Regions from separate parts of the Homo sapiens genome. Here all the other regions are linked to region 2. The links are contacts of gene promoters, found by promoter capture Hi-C in blood cells and fetal thymus (Javierre and others, 2016). All regions are on one chromosome and are shown on one strand. The core of a region is centred on a gene start or on the middle of the fragment in contact, and the rest is flanking DNA. Distances in the headings are between cores, read along the strand shown. Region 1 holds the start of LOC124904924 (a long non-coding RNA gene). Region 2 holds the start of SULF2 (sulfatase 2). Region 3 has its middle 180 kb from the start of LINC01522.

Region 1 (3,536 bases), core at 942-3,441, 490 kb before region 2:
TGCGGTGACTAAAGGATGGTGCTGGAATTGGAGGACTGAGGATTACTGTTGAAATTCTAGCTCTACCATTCAGCAGCTGGTGAGTGATCTGGGCAAGGCAACCAGTTTCCTCATCTATAAGTTGGTGATGATAACCATCATGATAGAGATTCTCTCTTTAAGGATTAGGTTGAGTGAGATACCAATGTAGACATCAATATATACTGCTTATCCCAGTCCCTGGAAAGTAATAGTATTCAATAAGTATTGAATCACAACAATGTTATTATTGTTTTTGTTGTTGTTGTTGTTGTTGAAAATGAGAGCCTCTTAGGGCTTTGTGAATTTCCTCTTTCTAAAGGTCCAGGCAGCTTCCTCCCGACATATTCAAATCCACCTCTGTGCCTGCCCAGCCCTGGATCTCCAGTTGGCTCTAGGAGGCCTATTCTGACCACCCAGCAATTTTCTCTTCGAACGGCACATTACTACCTTGTCATCAGGCACTCGATGAGGGCTGTCGAGGACACCTTCTAGAATCTTATCTTATTTCATCCCTTGACGTCCCAGCCACATGAACAGCAAGTGAAGCCCATGTAAATATCTGCCCCTACTAGGTTTTCCACACTCATCCCTTCCATTTTCTCCTCCATTTAAAAATCCATGTACCTTCTCACATTTTTAACACCTTATTTTTTAATCATAAGTTTAAATCATTGTATCAGAAATACTGAATATTTATATTCTAAAAGAAGACTATTACATCAATTTTAACGTGTGTCTAGTGGAAACTCAATACCATAATGATTGATACCCACCACGATTGATTTTAAAAATGCATGAAAACTCAGCTCTAATTGTTGGAAATTTTGCCTTTTTCTCCTAGAACTTCTACTCCTCTAGCCAACTTTGATGGGAGTGTATCTTACTTTTATGCTTGGAAGTCTTGTATTGATCATACTGCAACAAAAACATGTATAAATTAAAAACGGATAATATCCAGAGTTCTGTTCCTGTAAAGCTTTAAATGTTAAACATGTGATTCTGAATTTAGTTATCATTAACGATAGTGAGTAGTGCACCATTGATCAGAGAAACATAACAGCCGTGGGGCTGTTTTCTCAATTAATTCATGTATTCGTGGATGACTGTTGCTTACTATCATAAGGAGACAGGTTTCGGCCTCAACATTATCCCCCTTTTGAAAAAATTTTGATTTTGTTGCTGTAAGCAGGGTGAATCTTGTTCACGTAAATAAACAGATGGAGATTAAAGAGCTTCTGTTACATGTTATGCAATTGTTTGAATGCCTTCCATCAAAATGAGCTCCCTTGCTTTCTGGCTTGTGGTTGTGTCAGAGGCGTGTGAACCAGAGCAACTCCATCTTGAGTAGGGGCTGGGTAAAATAAGGCTAAGACCTACTGGGCTGCATTCCCAGACAATTAGGCATTCTAAGTCACAAGATGAGAGAGGAAGTTGGCCTGTATCTACAAGTCTATAAAGACCTTGCTGATAAAACAGGTTGCAGTAAAGAAGGCTGCCAAAACCCACCAAAACCAAGATGGCCATGAGAGTGACCTCTGGTCATCCTCACTGCTACACTCCCATCAGCACAAGGATGGTTTACAAATGCCATGGCAATGTCAGGAGGTTACCCTGTATGGTCTAAAAAGGGGAGGCATGAATAATCCACCCCTTGTTTAGCATATCACCAAGAAATAACCCTAAAAATGGGCAGCCAGCCACCCTCAGGTTTGCTCTATGAAGTAGCCGTTCTTTTATTCCTTTACTTTCCTAATAAACTTGCTTTCACTTCACTGTATGGACTCACCCTGAATTCTTTCTTGTGCAAGATCCAAGAACCCTCTCTTGGGGTCTGGACCGGGACCCCTTTCCTGTAACAGTTGGGTTTTGCCATGGGATAGCGAGAACAGGCAGAGATGGTAGACTGAGAGATGAGTGAGGTAGGGGTTCTTTATCCCTACTGTGGGGGAGCCCAGGCTGCCTGCCTCCACTGCAGAAGGTCACAGCTCCTGTCTGACAGCCCCCGCCTAGAGTCTCCTTTTGTCTGCAGATTCCAGAAGGCTCTTTCCCCTCACCCTCCCCAGGGCCCCACTGTTACTAGCCAGGGCCTGGCACTATTGTTTGCTATTTCCCTTCATCCGGATCACAAGTTTTAAATAATACCTTTATGAAACTTTCCTCCAATTAGCCAATGTAAGTACGCTATCTGTCTCCTGCCAGAACATTGACTGATCAATCTTTGTTTTATAAAGTGGGAGAAGAGTGTTACCAAAAGAGGATGTGGAAATGAAGAGCCCACAGAGTACCCATGTCAGTTGAGAATCTGAAAAGTGATTCTCTCAAAATGGCCTGTTGCCTGTGAACCCTTAGAAAGTCATTGTGTACCCCCAGGGTCTGAGTACTGCAATTTGATTTGATCGATCTAATACCTGACCATCCACCCTTCTGTCCTCCACCCCACGATTGCAAGAACAATATTGGGAATCTAAAACTTACTGAAAACAGCCAGTGAGTGTTTTGCCATCGAGGCTAAAGGATGCTGGAGGATCCCATATAGATAGCTATGGTGAGGGTCCTCATTGCCCTCATGGCTGAGGAAGCAGATTCCCTCCTGGAGCTGATGTCTGGGAGAGGACTGACCAGAAGAGGCTAGGACCCAGGGTTGCCTGCTTAAGTCTAGCACTTACCACCACTGAAGCGCAGCCTCTTGTTTCCTTATCCACCAGGTTTTCTGTGGCACTGAGTTAGAAATTCCAGGCAACCCACTGAGAGTTCTTTATTGCAGCAGCGGGCAACTGATCCACAATAACATGTAAAAAGATAGGGGTTCCCAGGCGGCGACAGCAGCTGCAGCTTTAAGTGGAAATTGGAGTGAAAATGTGCTGCCTCCATTTGCTGGCAGGAGGGGAGGGGTGGGTAGTGGGAAAGGGGGATGGGAGAGTGAGTGAGCTCTTGCTTCCCAGCACTGAATTGGGCTAGAAACCCCCAGGCTCCTTTGCTCACTATGTCATCACATTGAGACTGGAGGCTTCTGGCAGTGGCTGTGGGTGTGTTTGCATTAACTGCCAGCAGCAGAGCCTTTCCTTCAGAGTAATTCAGATACAAGAATTTCTCTCTCTCTCTCTCTTTCTCTCTCTAATAATCTCAGCCATCCCTGTTCAGACAGCCTCTTAGATCACAAACAATCCTGCATTAAACTTTGGTTTCTTGAATCACTGTTCGTGGTCATAAGTTTAGTGATAGTTTGAGTTATTGTTCAGCAGATAATGGGCCTTCCTGGTCCATTGATGTGGGTTTGGCTGTGTGACTTGCTTTGACCAAGGATGGTCAGAGTGTCAGAGGAAGTGACGAGACTAAAGTCATTAAATGTGCTCATGAAGCTTGCTTGCTCTTGTCCCCAGGGATCCACCATGAGGAGTGTGTCCAGAGAGGAGCTGCTCTCCCTTTAGACTATGCCCAAGATAAACACATATGGAGCAGACCTGATCCCAACCCACAGCCTGCAGCCATGCCCAGCAGAGCCCAGCCTGGATCCG
Region 2 (3,154 bases), core at 1-2,500:
CTCCGGCCTCTTCTGTGGCGCGAGGGACAGCGGAAACCACGGTAGACAGCACCCCCTTGAGTCCAATTCCTCCCCTTTCGGAGGAAGCCGGTTTCTCCTTTCTATGCTACTCCCGGGCCATTTCTGGACAACAGCTGCTATTTTCACTTGAGCCGAAGTTAATTTCTCGGGGAGTTCTCGGGCGCGCACAGGCAGCTCGGTTTGCCCTGCGATTGAGCTGCGGGTCGCGGCCGGCGCCGGCCTCTCCAATGGCAAATGTGTGTGGCTGGAGGCGAGCGCGAGGCTTTCGGCAAAGGCAGTCGAGTGTTTGCAGACCGGGGCGAGTCCTGTGAAAGCAGATAAAAGAAAACATTTATTAACGTGTCATTACGAGGGGAGCGCCCGGCCGGGGCTGTCGCACTCCCCGCGGAACATTTGGCTCCCTCCAGCTCCGAGAGAGGAGAAGAAGAAAGCGGAAAAGAGGCAGATTCACGTCGTTTCCAGCCAAGTGGACCTGATCGATGGCCCTCCTGAATTTATCACGATATTTGATTTATTAGCGATGCCCCCTGGTTTGTGTGTTACGCACACACACGTGCACACAAGGCTCTGGCTCGCTTCCCTCCCTCGTTTCCAGCTCCTGGGCGAATCCCACATCTGTTTCAACTCTCCGCCGAGGGCGAGCAGGAGCGAGAGTGTGTCGAGTGAGTGTGCGTCTGTGTGTCCCGGCGAGGGTGCGCGCTCGGCGCCGGGAGCGCGGCCAGCCGAGTCCGGAGGCATCGGGAGGTCGAGAGCCGCCGGGACCCCAGCTCTGCGTTCACTGCCCCGTCCGGAGCTGGACTTCGGGGCCGGGGCCGGGGCCGTGCGCCGGGGACAGGCAGGGCCGGGTCGCGGGCCGCGCGTCCCCCAGGCCGGAGGTAAAAGCGCTAGCGCGCGGAGGGCTCGAGGAGGGCACCGCGGCTGGGCCCCCCGCGCCCCGGGCCCCAGCCGTCCGCGGCTCCCGGCCCGACGCTCCCCGCCCCGGAGCGCGCCCGCCTCCCCTGCGTGGAGGCCGGCGGGCAGGCGAGCGGGGGGCGGTAGCGCCGTGCCAAGGGGCTGGCTGGGGCAGCGTGGCCGGCCGGGCTGGGGCGATTTAAGAGCGGTCCGGGCGGGGTGCGGAGCCGGACTTTGGCTGGGGCGGCGCGCGGGGAGGGGGCCGGGGGCGGTGGCGGCGGCGTTGGGGGGCGGGGAGGAGGCAGGAGGAGGAGCAGCAGCGCTCGCCGGGGGATGCAGCAGCGGCAGCGGCGGCGGCGGCGGCGGCAGCGGCAGCGGCGGCGCGGAGTCCCCTGCGCCCAGCGGCCCGGCCGGGCTGCGGCAGAGGCGGCGGCGGCGCCCCGCTCCGGGTGAGGTTGCCGGGGCCGTGCGCGCTGGTGAGTGGGGCGTGGGGGGCAGGTGGGTGGCTGGGGGACGCGGGGCTCGGGCGGGGGCTCGCGGCGGCCGGAGCCTTCCCCGGCGTGAGCCCGGCCGCGAGCGCCGCCCAGGTGAGCCGGGGCTGGTCCGGACCGCCCGGCTCCAGCCCCAGCGCTGCTTGCGGAGGTGGGTCCGGGCGGGCGGGAGGGAGGCTCCGGCGCCGGCCGTCCGCAGAGGGATGACCTGTTTGACCCCGCTGGCTGGCGGGCGGGCGAGGACTTCCCGCCGCGCCCCTGACCCGCGGACACGGCACACCGAGCACAGGCGGCCCCGGGTAGGGGAGCGCGCCTGGGCCGGCCATCCGCAGGGGCATGGCCTTGTTGACCCTTAGGGTTTAGACCCAAGGGACCGGTAGATGCCAGCCCACGTGGGGCTTGTCCGGGCAGGACTCGGGGAAGCAGTGGGCCGGATCTTCAGAGTGGTTGGAAACTCGCAGACACCGAAAGGACAAACAGGATCGAAAAGGCAGACTTCCTCCCAGGCCAGGGCAGAACGAGTTTCCATCGCCTGGCGGAGGGATGCTCCCCTCCCCGGCTCCTCGGGGTTTCAGAAGTCTAGCGGTGAATTCTAGGAGTGCACTTTTCCAAACATTCCTTATAGTAGTTCGTTCATTCGTTCTACAAGCATTTCTGGAGCACCCCCTCGTGCCGGGCACCGCGTTCTGTTCCAGGGAAACGCGGCTGAACAGGATCTGGCTCCTGCGCGCCAGAAGCTGCCGGTTCACTGGGAGGGCAGCAGGGTAGAGAGATGCCGTCTCGGGGTGGAAGATGGAAAGGGAAGCCTGCAATCCTAGTTTGCACACTGGCCTCGGTCCGCAACTCCCCCACCTGCACGCAGTAGGCCCAGCACACAGTAGGAAGAGCAAGCCAGACCTGCCTGTGACGACCCTCTCCTCCTCCTCCTCCCCCTTGAAAGCTTTGATTCATTCCCTGCCCCCCTTTCTGGAAAGTCTTCCTGCAGCTTGTTTTAATCACTTTTTGAGTTAAAAGTCAATATTTAATTAACCAAGTAATTACATTCAGCTTACGTTTCAATCTGGGTATTTGCTCATCTGTGCGTGTTGGGACACCCGCCCTCTCGCCCCTCCATCTGTCCCCTGCCTGTTTCCCACCGGGTCCACCCCCACTTTTGGGGCAGAGAAGGGGAGGCTGCGCTGGAGCAGGTTCTCAGGGGGAGACAGGGAGCAGGAGAGACGGGCTTTCTCTGGAGGACACCCCCGGATCTGCGCGCTCTCCAAATTTCAGCTTGTAGTGAATAGTGAAGGTGATTTCTTGACAGCCTCTGCCTCCCATTACAGAACCACCAGAGGGTTCTAATTAAATTAGAGCCAATCGTTAAGTATAGGAACGGGGTAGGGAGGACAGAACGAAGGGGGCCCCTTCCCTGTAAGAGATGTTCTCCCCAGCTTCGTCTCTCCCACATCATAGAGAAGAGAAAACTCATCCAGACAGCCTGTCGGATGTGTAATTTAGCGTTCTAATAAGCAGCTTGAAAGGCGAAGGTGGTGGGCTTGGCAGATGGCATGTTGGACCTTTGTACATGAAGGCCTCTTCCTTCCCCAGCTAAATTTATATACATAAAGGCCGTGATGTTGGCATCACTGCTGCAGCTGAGGGTCAATGTGGGTTTGGGGTTTGGGCTTTGTGTGTACTTCTTGGGTTTTTTATTTGAATTTATGGCTTTTTCTGAAACCCTAATAACATGTTAAATTTTCAAACTTGAGAGT
Region 3 (3,179 bases), core at 590-3,089, 380 kb before region 2:
CACCCTACCCCCGCCACATCAAAATCAGATTTTAGGAAATGATACTGTAAGCTTCTTCCAGCCAGGTGGCAACAGCTGATAAGCTTTCCTGTGTTACCCCTCAGCACAGCATTGCCAGGAAGGCAGAAAGTCCAAGAGAGGGAGCTTAGAGATGTTTCCGGGGATCCACAGCCTTCTTCTCTATCAGCAAATTGATACTCAGAGAGGGTAAGGGGTTGGCCTGGAGTCACACAGCAAGTGAGGGCAAGAAGCCTGGTGCTCTGACCCAGGTTCCCATTTGGATACTGTGGTACCCCAGACATGCTCTTGACCCTACCAATTCCAGTGTCAGGATTCCCTGGGTTCTCTCTCTCTCTCTGCCTATCTCTGTCTCTCTGCCTCTGACTCTTTCTGTCTCCGTCTCTTTTTGCTTCTCTCTCTCCTTCAAATACATCATCACATAATGAATAGATGAACAAAATGTGGAATACCTGTACAATGCAATAGTATTTGGACATAAAAATGAATGAAATATTGATACATGCCACAGCATGGAAAAATCTTAAAAATACGCAATTCAAAAAAGCCAGGCAGGGCACAGTAGCTCGCACCTGTAATCTCACCGCTTTGGGAGGCCAAGGTGGGAGGATTGCTTGACCCCAGGAGTTTGAGACCTGCCTGGCCGACATAGTAAGAATCTGTCTCTACAACGTTTTTTAAAATTAGCCAGATGTAGTGGTGCACACCTGTAGTCTTAGCTACTGGGGAGGCTGAGGCAGGAGGATGCCTTGAGCCCAGGAGTTCGAAGTTGCAGTGAACTATGATTGTGCCACTGTACTCCAGCCTGAACAACAGAACAAGACCCATTTCTGAAAAACAAACAAACAAACAAACAAAAAAACAGGCCACATTTTGTATGTTTGTGTGATTCCATTTATATGAAATGTCCAGGATAAGCACATCCCTAGAGACAGGAGTAGATTAGTGATGGTGAAGAGTGAAGAGCCCTGACAGCTAGCAGGTGTGAGGCTTATTTGGGGAATGATGAAAACGCTCTGGAATTAGATCGTGGCGATGGTTTCATAACTTTGTGCTTCTACTAAAACCTCTAAAGCCCGTGCACAAGGCGTGCATCCTGAGGCAGAAGAGGGAATTGTTTCCAAAAGGATGGATTTTTATGGTGTGTGGGTTATATGGCAATAAAGATGTTATTAAGAAGCACCGTCATGTGACTTGGCACGTACACTCTGTTAGACGCTGAGCACTCCTGCGTCTGCGGTGCGGATGCACATGCAACGGATGCACAGGGTAAATCCACAGAGTCATGGGCACTGTCCTACAGGATATTTACAGGGTTTTCAAGGCCGATTTTGACTCTGTAAGATTTCACCTTTAGAGTAGCTGCAGAGGCTCGTGCCCCAGGTAGGATACTCGGCCACCAGCTCACCAGTGCTGGCCAGAAGAAAGAGCCAAGAATCCTAAACGTAAAAAACAAACACGATGTGTACATTCTGGGAAGATACAGAGCCCTGGAGGCTGTCTGTGGGGCTGGATTTCCTTTTTTTCAAAAGAGAGATTTTTGGCTCAGCACGGTGGCTCACACCTGTAATCCCAGCATTTTGGGAGGCTGAGGCCGGCAGATCACTTGAGGTCAGGAGTTCAAGACCAGCCTGGCCAACATGGTGAAACCCTATCTCTACTAAAAATACAAAAATTAGCCAGGCAGGGTGGCAGATGCCTGTAATCCAAGCTACTCGGGAGGCTGAGGCAGGAGAATTGCTTAAACCCAGGAGGCGGAAGTTGCAATGAGCTGAGATTGCACCACTGCACTCCAGCCTGGGTGACAGAGTGAGACTCCATCTAAAAAAAAAAAAAAGATTTTTGACTGTGCACAGAGCCTCCTGTCTATAATCCCAGCACCTTGGGAGGCCAAAGCAGGAGGATTGCTTGAGACCAGGAGTTTGAGACCAGCCTGGGCAACATAGCAAGACCCCATCTCTACAAAAAATAAATGAGTGGAGTGTGTTGGCACTAGCCTGTAGTCCCAGCTTCTTGGGAGGCTGAGGTAAGAGGTTTGCTTGAGCCCAGGAGTTCCAGGCTGCAGTGAGCTGAGATCATGCCATCACACTTCAACCTGTGTGACAGAGTGAGACCTTGTCTCAAAATAAAATAAAATAAGATAAAATAAAATAGAGAGAGATTAGCACTCATTAGTGCTTAAGGACTCCCTATAAGGAACTTGAAACTTTCTCCTTGATACAATCAGAAGGTTGAAAATGAATTTTAAAAGGCCCAATTCTGGATGGGCTACAATATATCCAATGCTGTTTCCTGGACCCCCGACCTTGTCTTCAAGACAATGAAGTCTTCAGCTGCACTTTAATCCTAGGCAATTTCATCTGTGTGTACACAGCACCGGCCATCTCAGCTGCTCTCCAAGCGCTGGGCCCCACACAAGCATGGAATGGGAGCCCACACCCAGCCTCCCAGACTCTGTGCTCTTCCCTGCTCTGCTCCTGCCTGAACATCTCACCCAGGCAAATGCAACTGTGCTCTTTAAAGACAGACAATTTTTCCTACCATATGACTGGCCCCTAAAGTCAGCCAACTCGTTCATCCAGGACTCAACTAGAAAAAATGGATGCCGTGTCTCAGCGCTGGAGGGAAATGCTATGTCAGACTCACCAAAAAAATGATGCGTCCAGATATACCAAACTCAACGGGCAATGGTGCTCTTGTGCCATTTTTGTCTCATACTCCATCCTCAGGATCCAACATAATCCTCACTGTGCGCTGGGGGCCTGGGGGAGGGAACCGTGGGATGGCTTCAGTTCTGGCTGTCAGCTATTGAGCACTCACTGTGGGCCTGCCACATCTAAATCCTTTGCAGGCATTAACTCATTAATGCTCACGACAGCCCAGTGAGATCCACGTTATTACCCACATTCAATATCCAATAATATGAGGCTCAGGAGGCTACTGACATCACCTGAAATAACAGAGCTGCCAAGAGGGGCAGCTGGGACATGAGCTCCAGGGTCTGTTTCCCTTTGCCATCTGGAGTCATTGCCTGCAGGACAGATAGGAGTCATGTCCAGGTGTGAATGGTCCCCACTCTGCTTTGGAGGCTCTTGCTGTGCACTGGCCTCCTCCGATAAAGGGCCAGCCTCTGGCCAGGGGCAGGCAACCAAGCAGGAGTG

What was found. Contacts are between HindIII fragments. The CHiCAGO score rates a contact against its expected background, and 5 or more counts as called.
Region 1: a contact is called between a fragment that was not itself captured here and the fragment with the promoter of SULF2 in region 2, in 1 of 17 cell types (endothelial precursors). The highest score is 11.3, in endothelial precursors.
Region 3: a fragment that was not itself captured here is called in contact with the fragment with the promoter of SULF2 in region 2 in 1 of 17 cell types (endothelial precursors); the score reaches 5.0 in endothelial precursors.

The regions. Positions count from the first base shown.
Region 1 is chr20:48,275,308-48,278,843 of GRCh38, reverse strand. LOC124904924 (a long non-coding RNA gene) reads right to left here and starts at 2,997. Exons shown (of 2, transcript XR_007067634.1): 1 at 2,688-2,997. The HindIII fragment of the contact is 2,383 bases long and covers 1,000-3,382 here.
Region 2 is chr20:47,783,577-47,786,730 of GRCh38, reverse strand. SULF2 (sulfatase 2) reads left to right here and starts at 1,250. Exons shown (of 21, transcript NM_001387048.1): 1 at 1,250-1,388. It overlaps LOC124904920 (a long non-coding RNA gene), which reads right to left and starts at 977. Exons shown (of 2, transcript XR_007067618.1): 1 at 569-977; 2 at 1-326. RefSeq lists an enhancer at 1-132. The HindIII fragment of the contact is 4,753 bases long and covers 1-2,345 here.
Region 3 is chr20:48,167,891-48,171,069 of GRCh38, reverse strand. No RefSeq gene overlaps it. Among named protein-coding and RNA genes, the nearest start is that of LINC01522, 180 kb to the right of the region's middle. The HindIII fragment of the contact is 3,508 bases long and covers 86-3,179 here.